Regions from separate parts of the Homo sapiens genome. Here regions 1, 3, 4, 5, 6 and 7 are each linked to region 2. The links are contacts of gene promoters, found by promoter capture Hi-C in blood cells and fetal thymus (Javierre and others, 2016). All regions are on one chromosome and are shown on one strand. Each heading gives the region's core, a stretch centred on a gene start or on the middle of the fragment in contact. The rest is flanking DNA. Distances are from core to core; before and after follow the strand shown.

Region 1 (2,700 bases), core at 50-2,549, 210 kb before region 2:
CAAAGAAATGCAAATTGAAACCACAATGAGATGTCATCTTATGCCAGTCAGAATGGCCATTATTAAAAAGTCAAAAAATAACAGATATTGAAGAGAATGCAGTGAAAAGTGAAAAGGGAAATTTTAAACACTATTGGTGAGAATGTAAATTATTAAAATCTCTATGGAAAAAAGTATGGAGATTTCTCAAAGAACTAAAAATAAAACTACCATTTAATATAGCAATCCTACTATTGTGTATCTACCCAAAGGAAAATAAATCAATGTATCAGAAAAATACCTGGACTCACATGTTTATCACAGCAATATTCACAACAGCAAAGATATGGAATCAACCTAGATGTTCATCAACAGAGAACTGGATAAAGAAAATACGGTATACATACAAAAGGGAAAACTATTCAGCCATACAAAATGAACTCATGCCTTTTCCAACAACATCGATGGAACTGGAAACCGTTATCTTAAATGAAACAAGTCAGACACAGAAACACAAATATCACATGGTCTCACCTACAAGTGGGAGCTAAATCATGTCCACACGTGGATGTAGAAAGTGGAATAACAGACAATGGAGACTCAGAAGGGTGAGGATAGGAGGAGTGAAGGATGAGAAATTACTCAATGGGTACAATGTACATTATTTGGGTGATGGACATCCTAAAAGCCCCGACTTGACCATTAGGCAAACTATGCATGTAATGAAATTGCACTGTACCCCATAAATTTATATAAATAAAAAACTAATCATTTGACCGAGCAATCCCATTACTGGGTGTATACCCAAAGGCTTGTAAATCATTCTACTATAAAGATACATGCACACGTATGTTTACTGCAGCACTATGTACAATAGCAAAGACTTAGAACCAACCCAAATGCCCATCAATGATAGACCGGGTAAAGAAAATGTGGCACATATACACCAAGGAATACTATGCAACCATAAAAAAGGATGAGTTCATGTCCTTTGCAGGGACATGGATGAAGCTGGAAACCATCATTCTCAGCAAACTAACACAGGAACAGAAAACCAAACACCCCATGTTCTCACTCATAAGTGGGAATTGAACAATGAGAACACATGGACACAGGGAGGGGAACATCACATACCAGGGCCTGCTGGGGGGTAGGGGTCAAGGGGAGGGAGAGCATCAGGACAAATACCTAATGCATGTGGGGCTTAAAACCTAGATGACAAGTTGATAGGTGCAGCAAACCACCATGGCACATGTATACCTATGTAACAAACCTGCATGTTCTGCACATGTATCCCAGAACTTAAAGTAAAATTTAAAAAGCAGAATAAAATTTTAAAGGTAGTGTCAATATAAATTCATACCAAGATTAGCTGAAGGGAAAGTAACTCCCATAAGACATCTCATTTTGTTTCCACTGAGCCTGTTCTGACTCCTTGAAATGGCAGAAACAGGGGTAATAACAATATCTTTTATCATGTATTACCTTATGCTTTTCAAAAAAAGTTTCAAAAACACAATAAATATTTGAATAAATGCACTTAGATAATCCCAAATCAGAGTCAAGAAAATATATAAAAGTTAAATTCAAATGATAGAATTTGTCCATTTTTCCATTCAAATTACAATTTAAGTCAAGTAAAGAAAGACATACAAAAGCTGCATGATTAGGAGGGAGTGCAGCGCTCATCCTCCTGTCCCCAAGGCCGATTAGCCAGCTGGGTGAGAGATGAGATCATGAGTTCTGGGCCAATGAGTCACTGCCCTTCACCATTGCCCCCAGACACAAACAGCTGCAGGTCTCCCAAAGCGTGTGTCCACCCTACGGAGCTGCCACCCTACAGAGGAGAAAATGTGGGTGAAAGTAAGCAAAAGCAACATCACAACCATGAAATTAACTCAGTGTTCTACAAATGGAGAATTATATATCTCTTTCTGAATGAAGAGCAGCATATTTCATACACAGTGTGGAAATAAACATTGAGTAAATTGTTTTCAAAATTGTCATACCTAGGAGTAAACCCAGCAATAGGTAAATTATAAATTAAAGGAGCCCTTCTTTCTTCCTCCATCTATCCATCCATCTAGACTGTAAGGTATTTATTAGGCATCTACTGGTGCTAAATACTTCTTAATGATTTTAGTACACCCCGATGTGCCCAGTCCTTCTGATGAAACAATATCCGGAAACTTCATGAGAATGAATTCTCTTTTTTCCACGGGACTATAGGCTTCTCAATGGTGTAGACAACACTATCTATTTGAATTTACATATCAATTTACACATATATATACAAACATAAGTATATATATTTTTTATATTCAAGAGCTATCATAGTATCTGACTATATAGTGTATGCATCTCAATAAATATTTAAACTGAACTGAACTTCTGAAACTCCTGATTGGTTTCAAAAGATATAAAAATAATAGACTTGGTTAATCTATGCATTGGATTAATACATCCTAAATATAATTAAGAGTTTGGTCTAATCCAGTGAGAACAGAGTAAACCATAAGTGTACTACATAGATGAGGGAGTAAGGAGATAAACCAGAACTGAAACCTTGAGTTGAAGAAGTCTACATTGGAGTCAGAAAAACAGGTTATATCCATAACAAACTATAACAGAAGAAGGAGAGAGCAGACGATTCCAGAGAACCAGGGAAGGCTGAGAAGCATTATTGATTTGCTAGGTGGTAAATGAGGGATGACATTTTGA
Region 2 (2,700 bases), core at 32-2,531:
TGCAGCAGGATTTTATAACAGTTTTAAATTCTGTATATTTGATGAAGAGGTTTTATATTTTTGGATTCAAGCCTCTTTTTAAACTTCTACAATATGGTTTACAATAATTCCTTATATCCTGCTTTTGAAATACATATTACAACTTTTTAAGTTTGGAAGGCTATATTTCAAGGACTGAAGTTACAGTATACTCAAGTGATACACAAGCCTAGCACCCCACTTTCCACATAGTGTTCGATAAAGATTGATAAACTCGAAATCACAGACCTTTTAATTCTTAAGACAAATAGCAGCAGAAAGAAACATCTTTGGCTTATTTCTGGTAAGGTTTTTATGCTCTGTAAAACAAAGAATTGTATTCATCCGCGCAGCACAGATTCTATTAAAAATAAATGTGAGAGTCGTTAATGTAGTACTGCTCATTTACCATCAAAATTCACTTTTCAGGAATAATCCCATCAGTTTAAATTGGATATTGGAATGAGCATTGATTACATTTAACTTGGTAGCCCAAAATTTCTTCATGGGGTTTTGAACTCGGCGGGATTTCAAAGGTTTTAAAAATGAGTTTTTGATTTTTTTTAAAACCCTCAAATTTCATTACCTTTAAACTAGGTCGAAACGGGGCGCAAGAGATTGGATTAACACCATAGTAATACTTATTTTGTTCTTAACCATTTCAGGGCTTCTTGAAATAGAGGCTGTATGGTGTAATGGAAAAAACAGCCTTGGAATCTGGGAGCCTGATTCCTGGATTCAGTCCCAGTTTTGCGTGACCTTGGGCAAGTTACTTTACTTCTCTGAATTTCCGTTTCCTCCTCTGCAAAATGAGGATCGCAATAGCCACCTTGCAACCTTGACTGGAGCGAGCCTCGCACACCCCGCGCCGGCCTGGAGGAAGAGCAGCCATGATTACGCCGCCTTCGCTCCGCTACCCGCTTGCGGCTGGCGCCCTCCTCCAGCAGGTGTAGGCGCTGCCGCGCTGCCCCACGCCTTTCCGCCGCTCGCGGGCCTGCGCCTCGGCGTCCCCGAGGAGGCCGCTGCGGGCTGAGGTAGCGCACCGGCCTCTCGGCGTCCCAGTCCGGTCCCGGGCGGAGGGAAAGCGGGCGACCCACCTCCGAGGCAGAAGCCGAGGCCCGGCCCCGCCGAGTGCGGAGGAGCGCAGGCAGCCCCCGCCCCTCGGCCCTCCCCCCGGCCCTCCCGGCCCTCCCTCCGCCCCCTCCGCCCTCGCGCGCCGCCCGCCCGGGTCGCCGCGGGGCCGTGGTGTACGTGCAGAGCGCGCAGAGCGAGTGGCGCCCGTATGCCCTGCGCTCCTCCACAGCCTGGGCCGGGCCGCCCGGGACGCTGAGGCGGCGGCGGCGGCCGAGGGGGCCGGTCTTGCGCTCCCCAGGCCCGCGCGCCTGAGCCCAGGTTGCCATTCGCCGCACAGGCCCTATTCTCTCAGCCCTCGGCGGCGATGAGGCGCTGAGGCGGCTGCCGGCGCTGCGCCGGAGCTTAGGACTCGGAAGCGGCCGGGCCGAGGGCGTGGGGTGCCGGCCTCCCTGAGGCGAGGGTAGCGGGTGCATGGCGCAGTAACGGCCCCTATCTCTCTCCCCGCTCCCCAGCCTCGGGCGAGGCCGTCCGGCCGCTACCCCTCCTGCTCGGCCGCCGCAGTCGCCGTCGCCGCCGCCGCCGCCGCCATGGCCAATGACAGCGGCGGGCCCGGCGGGCCGAGCCCGAGCGAGCGAGACCGGCAGTACTGCGAGCTGTGCGGGAAGATGGAGAACCTGCTGCGCTGCAGCCGCTGCCGCAGCTCCTTCTACTGCTGCAAGGAGCACCAGCGTCAGGACTGGAAGAAGCACAAGCTCGTGTGCCAGGGCAGCGAGGGCGCCCTCGGCCACGGAGTGGGCCCACACCAGCATTCCGGCCCCGCGCCGCCGGCTGCAGTGCCGCCGCCCAGGGCCGGGGCCCGGGAGCCCAGGAAGGCAGCGGCGCGCCGGGACAACGCCTCCGGGGACGCGGCCAAGGGAAAAGTAAAGGCCAAGCCCCCGGCCGACCCAGCGGCGGCCGCGTCGCCGTGTCGTGCGGCCGCCGGCGGCCAGGGCTCGGCGGTGGCTGCCGAAGCCGAGCCCGGCAAGGAGGAGCCGCCGGCCCGCTCATCGCTGTTCCAGGAGAAGGCGAACCTGTACCCCCCAAGCAACACGCCCGGGGATGCGCTGAGCCCCGGCGGCGGCCTGCGGCCCAACGGGCAGACGAAGCCCCTGCCGGCGCTGAAGCTGGCGCTCGAGTACATCGTGCCGTGCATGAACAAGCACGGCATCTGTGTGGTGGACGACTTCCTCGGCAAGGAGACCGGACAGCAGATCGGCGACGAGGTGCGCGCCCTGCACGACACCGGGAAGTTCACGGACGGGCAGCTGGTCAGCCAGAAGAGTGACTCGTCCAAGGACATCCGAGGCGATAAGATCACCTGGATCGAGGGCAAGGAGCCCGGCTGCGAAACCATTGGGCTGCTCATGAGCAGCATGGACGACCTGATACGCCACTGTAACGGGAAGCTGGGCAGCTACAAAATCAATGGCCGGACGAAAGTAAGTGTGTGCTGCGGGTTTGTGCTGGACAGGCCCTTCTCGGCGGGCAGCCCCTGCCTGCGACTGAAACTGCCTAGGCTGAGAAGCAGCATTCCTCTATATAGAAGGGACTCGCTCTTTCTTGTGTAGC
Region 3 (2,700 bases), core at 175-2,674, 190 kb before region 2:
CAATCCTCTCACAGCTGATTTTTATGTTGTCTGATCAGTATAAATTCCTGGCTTGTGTCTTCTTAATGAGAGAGAGGGGACCTCCCTGTCCCCCAAAACTGATGCACATTGCAACCATCAGAAGCTTTTAAATGCCCCAATTCAACAGCCATATTAGAAGATCTCAGGAGGCTCTGCAGGCAGTTTCAAAGACAGCGTCTGTAAGTGGACCACTGTCCAAAGTCAGGAGTTCATCTCATTAATGAAGTGCTTGACGTTAAGCCACTCACCTTTTTCCCATCTCGTCCATGTTCCTCATGTGTTACACAGTGAGTAAAGTAATCGTGTGCTTTAATCTTCTCTTGCAGATGCTGTTAATGGTGAGGTCTCTGTAAGGCTATTCCAGGGGAAGAAAGGTTCATGCCATTCAGCTAATTTGAAATTTGAATTCAAGAATTGATTAGGGGTTCTTTCTCCAATTAAATGTGTGTGTTTGGGGATACATCACTTAATTTTCTAGCTTCCTTCTTTGAAAACAAAGGGGAAACCAGATGAGTGGCTTTTAAACTTTTGTTTCATGGCTGGTTGCTAAAAATTTAAGAAAAAACAAGAAGGTGAGATATATAATGACACTAACATTTTATTTTGCCAAGTAAATTTACTTTTTTTTTTTTTTAAGATAGAGTTTTGCTCTTTTTTGCCCAGGCTGGAGTGCAATGGCTCAATCTCGGCTCACTGCAACCTCTACCTCCTGAGTTCAAGCAATTTTCCTGCTTCAGCCTCCCGAGTAGCTGGGACTACAGGCACACGCCACCATCCCCAGCTAATTTTGTATTTTTAGTAGAGACAGGGTTTCACCATGTTGGCCAGGCTGGTCTTGAACTCCTGACCTCGGGTGATCTGCCTGCCTGAGCCTCCCAAAGCGCTGGGATTACAGGCGTGAGCCACCGCACCCAGCCATACATTTCTTTAAAAAAAAAAAACTTCTACCAACTACCATCGCCACTATTTCATATAGAAAAGCCTTCTTTTAACCTCAAAAAAATAATACATATGTGATAGAAGCTAGGACAGTTCCTTAAAAACAGTGAATTTTGCTTTCTCAAAAGCTCATTTATCCTGGTTTTTCCTTTCTTTTTTATTTTGTCCTGGCTGGTGAAACTTCCATAGTAGGTAGAACCAGTCCCCAGCTGTGGTCTTAGGGACCAAGTAATGAGACAGCCCCTGAGCTGAGGAAGCCAGAGAACTTCTCTTTTCGGTGTGATGCAGAGTTTGCAAAAATAAGCTCATGAATATTATTAAGCTTTATGTTATGAGAATGTTTACCCGTTTTCAAGTATAAACCTGTTTGTAAGATTTTGAATTTCAGATTTGGCCTTTCAGAGGACAAAACTGGAACATAGGCATAAGAACTAAACTACCAGTAGCCACAGAGGCACTCACCAAATATTTCTGAGTTGCTGGCATCCAGACACATAGTGGGAATGCCTTCCCAACCTCTCTGAAGCTGAGGATGGCCATGTGACTGGCTTTGGTCAGGGAAATGTGAGCAGAGGAGATATGCTTCCCATCTGGGCGGAAGCTTTAGAAGCCAGTGCTTGATTCATCACTCTTTTTCTGCCTCTATAGTATAAAAGTCTTCAGATGGAGCTTCTGTCAGCCTTGATCCCAAGAGCCTCTGTGAGTAGGATCTTGCCTGTAAACTTCTATAAAACATAAAACATGAACAAGAGAAAAGGAAGCATACATTGAATTAAGCTACTGAGACGTAGGTATCTTTGTTGCCACCGGATAACCTATCTCATCTTGATTAGTCTACCAAAGTTCTCTCAGTTCTGAAAGCCTGTACATGAATGGCCACACGATGTCTCAGATCGTAAGTTGTGGAACTGGAGCTGCTTTCACCAACAATACTGTCGTCAACAGCACTCACGTTCTTCAATCATGCTGCCTCCCCCAAATCCTAACTAAAGTGGTTCTAATATTGAGCAAGGCATTATTCCAGAAATGAAATCCAAGGCTTGGCAATAGTCAGAGCACATGAGGGCAGGATCATGACAACATGGGGAAGAGAAGATTTCACATGGTAGAGCACTCCTTGGGGGATTTCCTTGCTCTAGGTTGGAATCAGAAGGTTAAAAGACTTCCAATCTGGTTTCAAAATGTTTTATGGGACTTAAAGAAATCTTAAAGGGGAAGAGGAGACTTTTCTTTCATTCATCAGGCATCTGGGACTATGGATACAATGGCTGGAGCTCTAGACGCCATCTTGAACCTTGAAGACAAAGCCACAGCTTAGTAATGGCAAAGCAGATAACTGGAATTAGTCTGGTTCCATGACAACTTTGTGGGGTTGCCATATCCCTGCTGGATTGCCTTCCTTTAGATTTCCTTTATGGGACAGAGAAAAATTGTTACCTTGTTTATGCCACCATTAGTTGTTTTTTCTTATATGAAGCCAAGCCTAAATCTAACATTATATACCATTTTTTTTTCATTATTTGAAAGATACTGTTTATCTCATTCTTTTAAAAATTTTTGGCTTTTTGGATTTTTACAATTTAAAATAATGTATATAATTTATTTTAAAAGAAATATGAGGGCTGGGCATGGTGGCTCATGCCTGTAATCTCAGCACTTTGGGAGGCCGAGGTGGGTGGATCACCTGAGGTCCAGAGTTCGAGACCAGCCTGGCCAACATAGTGAAACCCCGTCTCTACT
Region 4 (2,700 bases), core at 167-2,666, 230 kb before region 2:
AACATATACAAATGGCCAAGAAACATACGAAAAACTGCTCACCATCACTAATCATCAGGGAATGCAAATTAAAACCACAATGAGAAACCACCTTATCCCAAACAGAATGGCCCTTTATTAAAAAGTCAAAAAACAAGAGATGTTGGCATGGATATGGTGAAAAGGAAAAGCTTATATACTTCTGGTGGTAACATAAATCAGTATAACCTCTATGGAAAACAGTATGGAGATTTCTCAAAGAACTAAAAGTAGATCTACCATTCAATCCAGCAATCCCACTACTGGACTAGGTACCCAAAGGAAAAGAAGTCATTACATCAAAAAGACACCTGCATGCATATGATTATCACAGCACAATTCACAATTGCAAAGCTATGGAACCAACCTAAGTGCCCATCAATCAATGAGTGGATGAAGAAAATGTGGTATATATACACCATGGAATACTAGTTAGCCATAAAAAAGAATGAAATAATGTATTTTACAGCAACTCAGATGGAACTGAATGCCATTATTCTAAGTGAACTAACTCAGGAGTGGAAAACCAAACACTGTACTTTCTCATTGGTAAATGGGAGCTAAGCTATGGATACACAAAGGCACACAAAGTGATATAATGGACTTTAGAGACTCAGAATAGGGGAGTGTGGGAGGGGCGACTTTAAAAGTTACATATTGGGCACAATGTACGCAACTTGGGTACACTAAAATTTCAGACTTCAGGACTATACCATTCATCCATGTAAGCAAAAACCACTTGTACTCCTAAAGCTATTAAAATACTTTTTTAAAAAAAGAATTTGTTGGTTTGCAAGCATAAAATGAAAGGGAATAGAGTCCAGATGTTTGTCCAGAAACTTCTGAGTGTAAAGCCTTGGAAGAAATGACTGCTTCTAAAGTCTGAGGAGTAAGAAACAAGATTGAAAAGGCTTTTGAGTGACACAGGTAAAAGATTCAGCCTTGTAGCAAAGAGCTAATTAAGAATTTTGCCTTCCCATCTGACCCTGAAGGCCTCAAGGAAGTCACCATCTCATTGACAGAAAAGGGTATTAGGGTGAGAAAGTAATATAATAATTCAAGCTTGGTAATAATATCTAGGAAAAAAACTTAGGGATTTGCTATTGGCATAAAAAACTTAAGGGAAGAAAACAGAACAGAAACAAGTAATCCAAGCACAGAAAGAAAAATACTGCATGATCTCAGTTACAGGTGTAATCTAAAAAAAGTCGGAAGTAGAGAATAGAATGGTGGTTAGCAGGGGCTGGGGCAAGGGTAGAAGTGGATGGGAAGATGTTAGTCAAAGTATACAAAGCTTCAGTTAGACAGAAGGAATAAGTTCTTAAGATTTATTCCACAGCATGGTGACTATAGTTAATAATAATGCAATATATTTCAAAATTGCTAAGAATTTCATACCACACACACACAAAAATTTCATACCACACACACACGTGAAATGATGGATATGTTAATTAGCTTGGTTTAATCATTTCATAGTGAATAAATATATGAAAGCTTCACATTGTACCCCATAAATATGTAAATTATTTGTCAAAAATAAAAGTAATTAATTTAAAAAAAAAACAGAATCCTATCAAATTTTTGACATAAATGTATGGCCAAAGAAACCATGAGCCTGGACTAAAAATAAAATTTTTTAAAGACGTTTGTCTATTTGAGCCTTGAAACAACAGCAGGGCACTAGAGGGCTGCAAAGCTGTGTACCCTCCTAAGATGGCGGACTCCCCTGCAATCACTTCAAACGTAGCCATTGAGAATAAAGTGCAAGAAGGAACTTGCCAGGACAGAGCTCGGACCATGGAGACCAACTGAGAAGAGATTGCCTTTTCTGGCAAAATCAAGGTCTAATCAAGAAAGTTCTCCCACCCTCTGGTTGAGAACCTCCACCTTGCCCACCCAACTGGATTCCATTGTTGCTTTGGGCCTGTGATGACTGTGCTGCCCGCTCTTTACTCTGTTCTAAATGGGAGCTTCTAATGTTACAATGCTTCCCTGCTTCATTGAAAATTGGGAGGCGCTAGGGAGGAGGCAAATAACTTTATTCTCTTCTAGTTCATAAGTCATCAAACCACAAGGATCCTCATTTAGATGTGATGGGGAAGACAGCACATCACCCAGAGATCCTGAACAGTGACTAAGCAAGGTGCCAGGGCTGGATGGGACTTAGGGTCCCTCACTCTGGGAGGGGTGTGTTCTGTGTGTGAGGGGAAAAGCAAAACAGGAATTTGGTAAACAGTAGGGGAAGCTCTGTTAGAGACTAGCTAGTATTCACCAAATGTATTTCCTTTCCTCCCACACACACAGATGAGTGGCATTTCCCAGCCTCCCTTGCAGTTTTGTATGGCCATGTGACATTCTGGCCAATGGAATGGGGGCAGAAGCAGTATCTGCCACTTCCAGTTCTGATCCATTAAAACCTCCTGTGACATCTTCTTCACTTTCTCTTCCACTATCAGCCAGCTAAGCAGCAAGGGCCAGGGCAACCTTGCAAACCACACGCTGGAGAGGGCCTGAGTCCCTGCATGGCCATGCAAGGCACAGCAGCCCCTCCACGCAAGCCTGGTACCTCAAGGTAACCATCAGCAAATGGAGAGAACCTAAACTTTACATAAGGAGAAATAAACTTCTGAGGTGTTAAGCCACTGAGATTTCAGAATATATGCTTTAGAACTAGCATCA
Region 5 (2,700 bases), core at 182-2,681, 160 kb before region 2:
AAACATTAGCCGGGCGCCGTGGTGGGCAGCTGTAGTCCCAGCTACTCGGAAGGCTGAGGCAGGAGAATGGCAGGAACCCAGTAATTGAAAGAATGGAATTTTATGATTCCATTACATGAAATGTCCATAACAGGCAAATATGTACATATAGAAAGTCGATTAGTTGTTGCCTAAGGCCACGGGGGTGGGGGGCGGTTAAGGGTAATTGAGAGTGGCAGGTAATGGATACTGGTGTCCAAATTTTGGTGGCATCAAAATTTCTCTATAAAAAGGACAACATACTCTCAACCATAGACCAGGAGAAGCTATCAGTAAAGAACTACAAAAAGGAGAGAAGGGGGAAAGAGCAGTTTGGAGAAAGACAATCTAATAGAAAAATGTCAAGAATATAAGGGCAAGTAATATATAGACAAAATCTGGGTGGCAAAAGTTTTCATTGTAAAGATATTCACTATTAGATTAAACCTCATTAAATTGCCAATACTTGATAGTTTTAGCTCACAAAAATGCGATCTCATATAGGTAAAATTAGTAGCAGTAGGAAAATTAAAAATTAAGCGATACTGTCAGCCAAATGTGGTGGCTCGAGTCCATAATTCCAACACTTTGGGAGGCCAAGGCGGGAGGATCACTTGACGTCACGAGTTCAAGACTAGCCTGGGCAACATGGTGAGACTTCATCTCTATAAAAAATAAGAAAATTAGCCAGGCACAGTGGCCTGTGCCTATAGTCCCAGCTACTAGGTAGGTAGAGGCAGGAGGATGGCTTGAGCCCAGGAGTCTGAGACTGCAGTGAGCTATGATCACACCACTGCGCTCCAGCCTGGGCAACAGAGCGAGACCCTGTTTCCCAAAAAAAAAAAAAAAACCATTAAAAATCCATTAGATTGACCATCAGGACTCACAAAATTATGTGGAAACATAAACTATTAGACAGTTGTAGAAGAAAGCTTAGATTGGTAAAAGCACTTTGGCAATATCTAATAAAGTGGAACATACGTATACCCCTAAGACCAAGCAACTTCACTCCTTCATAATCTTCCTAGAGAAATTCTTACATAGGTACACAAGGAGATAAGCCAAAGATATTGTATTACCCAGAGTTCTCCAGAGAAACAGAACCAGAACCAATAGAGAGAGAGAGAGAGAGAGAGAGAGAGAGAGTGTGTGTGTGTGTGTGTGTGTGTGTGTGTGTGTTTAATTATAAGGAATTGGCTCACAGGATTACAGAGGTTGAGAAGTCCCAAGATAGGCAGGTGGCAGGCTGGAGACCCAGGAGAACCATTGTTCAAGTCCAAAGGCCTGAGAACCAGAATAGCTGATGTTATTAATACTAAAAGCCACGAGGCTCCAGACCCAGGAGCTGATGTTTCAGTCTGAGTTTTTTTGTTTGTTTGTTTTTTGAGGCAGAGTTTTGCTCTTGTTGCCCAAGCTGGAGTACAATGGTGTGATCTTGGCTCACTGCAATTTCTGCCTCCCAGGTTCAGGTGATTCTCCTGCCTCAGCCTCCCAAAGTAGCTGGGATTACAGGTACCCGCCACCACGCCCAGCTATTTTTTGTATTTTTAGTAGAGATGGGGTTTCACCATGTTGGCCAGGCTGGTCTTGAATTCCTGACCTCAGGGGATCCACCTGCCTCAGCCTCCCAAAGTGTGGGGATTACAGGCATGAGCCACCACGCCCGGCCAGTCTGAGTCTTAAGGCCAGAAAAGACCAATGTCTCAAGCAGCCAGAGAAGAGGAGTTCCCTCTTACTTAGCTTTTGTGTTCTATTCGGGTCTTCGATTGATGAGCTGAGGTCCACCCACATTAGGAAGGGCAATCTGCTGTATTCAGTCTGCCAATCCAAATGCTAATCTCATCTGGGAACACCCTCACAGGCACACCCAGAGTAATGTTTGGTCAAAAGCTTGGGTGCCCGTAATCCAGTCAAGTGGACACATAAAATTAACCATCACAGATACTCACTTCAGTATTGTTTATAGTATCAAAAACTTGGGCCAGCCATGGTGGCTCACACCTGTAATCCTAGCACTTTGGGAGGCTGAGGCGGGTGGGTCATCTGAGGTCAGGAATTCAAGACCAGCCTGGCCAACATGGTGAAACCCCACCTCTACTAAAAATACCAAAAAAAAAAAAAAAAAAATTAGCCGAGCATGGTGGCAGGTGCCTGAAATCCCAGCTACTTGGGAGGCTGAAGCAGGAGAATCACTTGAACCCGGGGGACAGAGGTTGCAGTGAGTTGAGATCACACCACACCACTTCATTCCAGCCTGGGCGAAAGAGCGAGACTCTGTCTCAAAAAATAAATAAATAAATGAATAAATAAATAAATAAATAAATAACTTGGACATAATCTAATTGTCTATTTATTCTACAAATACTCACTAGGCACGCATATGCCAGGGACCATTCAACATGTTTGGGATACACCAGTGAGTAAAAAAGACAAACATTCCTCTCCTTGGCGAGGTTACATATTAATTAAAGAAGACAAACAATAAGCCTAATACATACGTATGGTACGTATTACTTACGTAATACAGGAAAGCTACTTTCCACAACTTCAAGGATACCATTCATATTATGTTCTATGTAAATGCCACCCTCTGCAAATACGTAAGGCAGTAGTGGGGTGGGGAGTGGGTGGCCAGTGACAATTTAAATTAGAAGATCAAAGTAGGCATTATTAAGTAGGTGA
Region 6 (2,700 bases), core at 92-2,591, 130 kb before region 2:
ACAGCTTCCCAGAGAGTCCATCAGCACAACAGCTCAGCAAATGTCTCTGCCAGCCGATGGGACATGCCCACCCTCTCCAGCATGGTCTGGACCTCATCCTGTGAAGGGTGAGGGTTGGGTTCTGCCAAATTTAGTTCCTTGGGTGCTCTGCCTCCGCCCTAGGGGTAGTGGCTGCTCACTCTATCTGAGATTCCAGTACTCTTTAGAGTTCTCTTTTACTCTTATAATCCCCTATATGGTTAATAAGTCTGTATGTTGTATTTAACTTTCCCTGTTCATATTACCATCTAATTTCTGTTTCCTGTTTGGAGCCTGATGAATACAATAAGGAATTAGGAAAATAAATAATGGTATTACTTCTCCTTCAGCCCTACTACCTAGAGAAGGTGTTCCATTTTCTGTGGCTAGTCACTGTATTAGGTTCAGGATCAAGATTCAGTACCAGCTGGGAGCTTCACATGAATTCTCCCTTTAACATACTAGGTGTTCTCACTTTATGTTCTATACTGAATCTTACAGAAATACTGAAACACACTCAGATCTGTCCTATCCATGAACCCTATATTTCCTCTCAACTATTGCTCCATCTGTCTCCTCCTCCTCAGAGCTAAGTTTCTTGAAGTAGCTGGCTACATCATTTCCTCAATAACTTCATCTCACACTTCTCAACCTACTTCAATCTAGCTTGGGTACATCTCTAAAACAAAATAGTTCTTGCTAAGATTACCATAATAAATAAGACTAATGGACATTCTTTCCGTCTTCATCTCGGCAGCATTCAGCATTTTGTGCCACTTCCCCTCTTTGAACAAGTTTTCCTTTGATTCCTTTGACAGCATCATCTCCTGATTTCCCACTTTTCCACCTCTCTAGTCATGTCTTCTTAAGTCTCTGCCTCTATCAGTCCTAGGTTCCCTCCAGTTCATCTATACTTGGTTTCAAGTAACCTTGCTGCCCTTAAACTTCACATCTCTGGCCAACAGGCACTCACATCCAAATGAGTATCTGACATCCTTACCAAAGATACCTCAAAATCAACACTTCCAACAATGAACTCACTACCTTCCTTCCAAACCTGGTTCTCTCAAGTTTTGCCAATTCTAAGCATGTCCTGGTCTCCCCCCATCTATTCTTGACCTCTTCACATCCATTCTCACACTGCAGACTGTCTGCCTTTTTAATATGTTAACGACATCATTCCCCAGTTTAAAGCCCAAATAGCTTCCCATGGCGCTCAGAATACAGGGCAAAACCATTAACGTGGCTTATAAGACCATGCTTAATTTCACCCCCACTTACATTATCAGCCTCAATTCATGCTATAGTTAAGTCATAACTCACAAAGGCTTGCATTTCCAAGATGGGTACATAAACATATATCTGTATGCATGTTGAGCAAAAAATAGCACTGCTTTAAATGGTCAGAATCAAACACAACTGGCAAGGTGCCTGTCTTATACATGGCAATAGGTAGGTAGGGAGACAGTATAAAAAGTAGAACTATGTCAGTTGAAGGCAATACACACATATTTTCCTGAGCCTTGAATAATATTAAATTCAACAAACAGGATAAGCAGCCTTACATGGAAAGGGGGCTGTTATTCTCTCCATCTCGCCCAATGTAACACTGTCGATCCTATTTGTTAAATTTAGTATTATTTCATATGTAGCTGTTGATAAGACCACAAACACTTTAGCAACAACATACTACTAATATTCTGTATCATTCAGCAGTGCCTTGTTGCAGAAACAAATAGCATTTCTGTTTGGCTGCCATATAGTTTAGTTTCATTCAAGTACTTTTTTTTTCATATTTCAGTGGAAGAATAGTTCAAAATATTCCAAATTTTAAAAGTACCATCAAGATCATGGCATCTAGTACTTTTACAACTGAGGCCCAGGCCTGGCATTTAGTTGTACCTAGTTGATTTTACTAATTACAAATTATTTTTAAAAATAAATTCACTAAAACCATTTTCCATGTTTTGAATTGACTCACGGACAAAACAACTTTTTACAACTAATGAAGGTGAACAAACTTTTTTCTTCCATGGACAAATGCATGATATTTTACCATATCATTGTCTCCGTAATTGTCATCTTTGTTCAATAACATTCATTCAGAAGCAGGAGTAGTTTTAAAAATAGTACTTTGCTTTTTGATTGTCTATTGCTTTTCTTTCCCCTCTTCCATTGTGCAACTATGAAATTTAAAATTATTCATCTTTCATTATCCAAGGCTCTTTGGTTCCTCCCCTCAACTTAGCTCCATTTCTACTCTTGCATGTCCAAAAACTCCTTAAGGACTCTATTCTACAAATGGACATCTACCCTGGGACAAAATCCTTAATTATCACAGAGGACCTAGGAAAACAGGAATTTCAGTCTTTCCTTGAGCAGGAGCAAACTCTTAAGATGTGCTTTTACTCCAATCATCTCTGTAAGCCAAATACTGCAATACAGTAAGCAATATTTACTCCCAACAAAATGAATTATGGCATCTTGCTTAAAGAGCTGAAGTGGTTAGAATTCGTTTGATTTTTTTAAAAATTAGCAGTTTCATTTTTATTTTTTCTCCGTTTAATTGTGGTAAAACAAACATAACATTTACCAGCTTAGCCATTTTTAAGTGTACAGTTTAGCATATTAAATACATTCATAATGTTGTACAACCATTATTACCATTCATCTACAGAATTC
Region 7 (2,700 bases), core at 91-2,590, 170 kb before region 2:
TGCACTCCAGCCTGGCAACAAAGTAAGACTCCGTCTCAAAAATAAATAAATAAATAAAATTAATTAATTAAAATAAAATAAAGAAGACCACAGACTAGAACCCACGATTGCTGACTCGGTCCAGATTATTTCCATACACAAGTTAAAGCATGTGGACCACAAAAATAAAAGTCTTTACAAAGACACTGGGGAAAAAAGTGTTCATATGTAGAAAAAAATAAAGATATTCTGGGGGGGAAAAGGGCTGGGAGTACAATTTGTATATTGACTAAACCAGTTTTGTAGCAAAGCCAATAACTGTCTTTTATTTGTTTGTTTGTTTTTGTTTATTCTCCTGTGGTGCCTTCAAAATATAATTATGGAGATAATTTCCTCTATCCCTGAATGGATACTTGGGCAAATCTCATGACTTCTGCATTCACTCTTAGATAATGGATGGTTCTACAGTGTTAAGATCATAAAATCAGCATTGGTTTAGTAACTTGTACAGGTTCAGTCCAAGATACTAACAAGCCATTCAGTCCTCATTCAGAGTCTTTCTCTTCTTGGCTAAGTGAGGTCTAAAGACTGCCTGCTTTGGAGAAGAAGGTGTGGGCGTCTTCTCCTCTTCTGCATTCTCCCACTAGCTGCTGTTTGGGGCCCTTCCTGGGGAGAGGCAATGGATTCTACTTAGCTGGGTGGCTCCCTGCACTCTGGGCTTGACACAGTGAAAGCAAACTCTTACTTCCACGAAGCAATTTCATGGGCTTTTGTTTTCTTTTTAATTACCCAATTGCTGAGGCCTCTCACCTAATTCTCAGGCTTTGAACAAAACATTCCACCCCCCAGGCTGCTTTTCCCCACTGTGCACTCCACATGGCTTCATGCTGCTGCAGACTCCACCCTTCCCAGTGGCTCCCCAGGCAGCACTCACAAACTGCTCTCGCCAGCTCTCCCGCGGAGGGGCCTACTCTGGGGGACAGGAAATATTGAGAGACCTTGGCCTTGATATTCCAGAGGTAACAGCACGCTCCTGACCTCACTGCTGGTTGGTGAACCTGCCTCTTAGCCCCTCCATTTCCTAAGGTGTCAACCCCATTCTGAATGTGCCCCAACTTCAGCAAACACAAATCAAGCTCATGGACAATCCTACTGAAGCCCTTTCCCCAGCCACGGGCGGAGTGGAGGAGAAGAGGAGAGTCTGGAGACAAATACGCCTCCTCTGACTATACTGGAATCCCCCTCTTTTTCATTACTTTGTATGTGGTATTACATACAACATAAAACTTAGCATTTTTACCATTTTCAAATGTATAGCTCGGTTGTATTAACTATATTCACACTGCTGTGCAACTATAACCGCCGAACAATCTCCAAAATTCTTTTAATCCTCCCACACTGAAACTCTGTACCCAGAGTTTCTAACATGAACTCCCCCACCCCCGACTCCCAGTCCCTGGCACCTACCATTTGAACTTCCTGTCTCTATGAATCTGACTTCTCTAGGAACCTCATGTAAGTGGAATCATACATTATTTCTTTTTATGACTGGCTTATTCTACTGAGTACAATATCCTCAAGGTTCATCCATGTTATAGCACGTGTCAGGATGGAATAATATTCCATTGTGTGGAGAGACCACACTTTGTTTTTTCATTCAACCATCAGTGGACACTTGAGATGCTTCTACCTTTCAGCTATTGTGAATAATGCTGCTCTGAACATGGGTGTACAAACATCTGTTCTCGTCTCCTTACCCCTGACCCTTTCTAAGTTTTGCCCACGTGGGGTTCAGTCTTAACACTCATTTTTGTATTTGTTGTCCATTACACATTAGTGTCTCAACTGATATCACACAAAAAGAAACACATCTAACATTCTGTTAGGTCAAGACCCAAAGATAACCTTAGGCTCTATTCAAAGTCCTCTAACTTTTTTTTTTTTTTTTTTTTGAGAGGGAGTCTCATTCTGTCTCCCAGGCTGGAGTGCAGTGGCACGATCTCAGCTCACTGCAACCTCCACCTCCCAGGTTCAGGCAATTCTTCTGCCTCAGCCTCCCAAGTACCTGGGACTACAGGCACGTGCCACCACGCCCGGCTAATTTTTGTATTATTAGTAGAGACAGGGTTTCACCATGGTGGCCAGGCTGGTCTCGAACTCCTGGCCTCGTGATCTGCCCCCCTTGCCCTCCCAAAGTGCTGGGATTACAGGCGTGAGCCACCGCGCCCAGCTGTAAAGTCCTCTAACTTTAAACACTGCACAGGTCTTAACCCTCTGGGGAGGTTTTCCTCTGGAGGCTCCTGTCTGCACTTCCTAGTTAAGGTTTTCGATATGGATTGGTCCCAGTCAGCTCCTCAAAAATACAACCAAATATTAACATAAAGTTACCATGTGACCCAGCAATTCCATTCCTTGATACACACCCAGAAGAAATGAAACTATGTCCACATAAAAACTTGTAGACAAACGTTTATAGCTAGCATAAAACTCATGACAGCTGAAAAGTGGACACAATCCAAATGTCTTTCCACTGATGAATGGATACTCAAAACTGGCATATCCATTCAGTGAAATACTATTTAGCCATAAAAACAATGAAGTACTGATACAGCTACAATATAAATGAACCTCATATTAAGTGAAGGGCCTACTCTGGGGGACAGGAAATATTGAGAGACCTTGGCCTTGATATTCCAGAGGTAACAACAGCACGTTCCTGAC

Evidence for each region. Contacts are between HindIII fragments. The CHiCAGO score rates a contact against its expected background, and 5 or more counts as called.
Region 1: a contact is called between a fragment that was not itself captured here and the fragment with the promoter of EGLN1 in region 2, in 4 of 17 cell types (neutrophils, non-activated CD4 T cells, activated CD4 T cells and 1 more). The highest score is 6.2, in neutrophils.
Region 3: a fragment that was not itself captured here is called in contact with the fragment with the promoter of EGLN1 in region 2 in 12 of 17 cell types (naive CD4 T cells, total CD8 T cells, non-activated CD4 T cells and 9 more); the score reaches 11.5 in naive CD4 T cells.
Region 4: a fragment that was not itself captured here is called in contact with the fragment with the promoter of EGLN1 in region 2 in 1 of 17 cell types (total B cells); the score reaches 5.1 in total B cells.
Region 5: a contact is called between a fragment that was not itself captured here and the fragment with the promoter of EGLN1 in region 2, in 16 of 17 cell types (megakaryocytes, endothelial precursors, naive CD8 T cells and 13 more). The highest score is 13.0, in megakaryocytes.
Region 6: a contact is called between a fragment that was not itself captured here and the fragment with the promoter of EGLN1 in region 2, in 13 of 17 cell types (total CD8 T cells, naive CD8 T cells, naive CD4 T cells and 10 more). The highest score is 10.8, in total CD8 T cells.
Region 7: a fragment that was not itself captured here is called in contact with the fragment with the promoter of EGLN1 in region 2 in 14 of 17 cell types (naive CD8 T cells, neutrophils, total CD8 T cells and 11 more); the score reaches 10.5 in naive CD8 T cells.

What each region holds. Positions count from the first base shown.
Region 1 is chr1:231,635,393-231,638,092 of GRCh38, reverse strand. The region is part of intron 1 of DISC1 (DISC1 scaffold protein); the gene reads right to left. The region is part of intron 5 of TSNAX-DISC1 (TSNAX-DISC1 readthrough (NMD candidate)); the gene reads right to left. Among named protein-coding and RNA genes, the nearest start is that of DISC1, 10 kb to the right of the region's middle. The HindIII fragment of the contact is 3,046 bases long and covers 1-2,700 here.
Region 2 is chr1:231,420,868-231,423,567 of GRCh38, reverse strand. It overlaps EGLN1 (egl-9 family hypoxia inducible factor 1), which reads left to right and starts at 1,281. Exons shown (of 5, transcript NM_022051.3): 1 at 1,281-2,570. The coding sequence starts at 1,680. RefSeq lists silencers at 816-1,140, 896-2,075 and an enhancer at 2,456-2,700. The HindIII fragment of the contact is 5,790 bases long and covers 1-2,700 here.
Region 3 is chr1:231,615,629-231,618,328 of GRCh38, reverse strand. It overlaps TSNAX-DISC1 (TSNAX-DISC1 readthrough (NMD candidate)), which reads right to left. Exons shown (of 16, transcript NR_028393.1): 5 at 1,423-1,685. Among named protein-coding and RNA genes, the nearest start is that of LINC00582, 4.9 kb to the right of the region's middle. RefSeq lists a silencer at 180-380. The HindIII fragment of the contact is 279 bases long and covers 1,285-1,563 here.
Region 4 is chr1:231,653,198-231,655,897 of GRCh38, reverse strand. All of the region lies in intron 1 of DISC1 (DISC1 scaffold protein), which reads right to left. The region is part of intron 5 of TSNAX-DISC1 (TSNAX-DISC1 readthrough (NMD candidate)); the gene reads right to left. Among named protein-coding and RNA genes, the nearest start is that of DISC1, 28 kb to the right of the region's middle. The HindIII fragment of the contact is 203 bases long and covers 1,315-1,517 here.
Region 5 is chr1:231,577,123-231,579,822 of GRCh38, reverse strand. The region is part of intron 4 of TSNAX-DISC1 (TSNAX-DISC1 readthrough (NMD candidate)); the gene reads right to left. Among named protein-coding and RNA genes, the nearest start is that of LINC00582, 34 kb to the left of the region's middle. The HindIII fragment of the contact is 958 bases long and covers 953-1,910 here.
Region 6 is chr1:231,555,471-231,558,170 of GRCh38, reverse strand. The region is part of intron 4 of TSNAX (translin associated factor X); the gene reads right to left. The region is part of intron 4 of TSNAX-DISC1 (TSNAX-DISC1 readthrough (NMD candidate)); the gene reads right to left. Among named protein-coding and RNA genes, the nearest start is that of TSNAX, 28 kb to the right of the region's middle. The HindIII fragment of the contact is 3,130 bases long and covers 1-2,700 here.
Region 7 is chr1:231,594,640-231,597,339 of GRCh38, reverse strand. The region is part of intron 4 of TSNAX-DISC1 (TSNAX-DISC1 readthrough (NMD candidate)); the gene reads right to left. The region is part of intron 1 of LINC00582 (long intergenic non-protein coding RNA 582); the gene reads left to right. Among named protein-coding and RNA genes, the nearest start is that of LINC00582, 16 kb to the left of the region's middle. The HindIII fragment of the contact is 5,790 bases long and covers 1-2,700 here.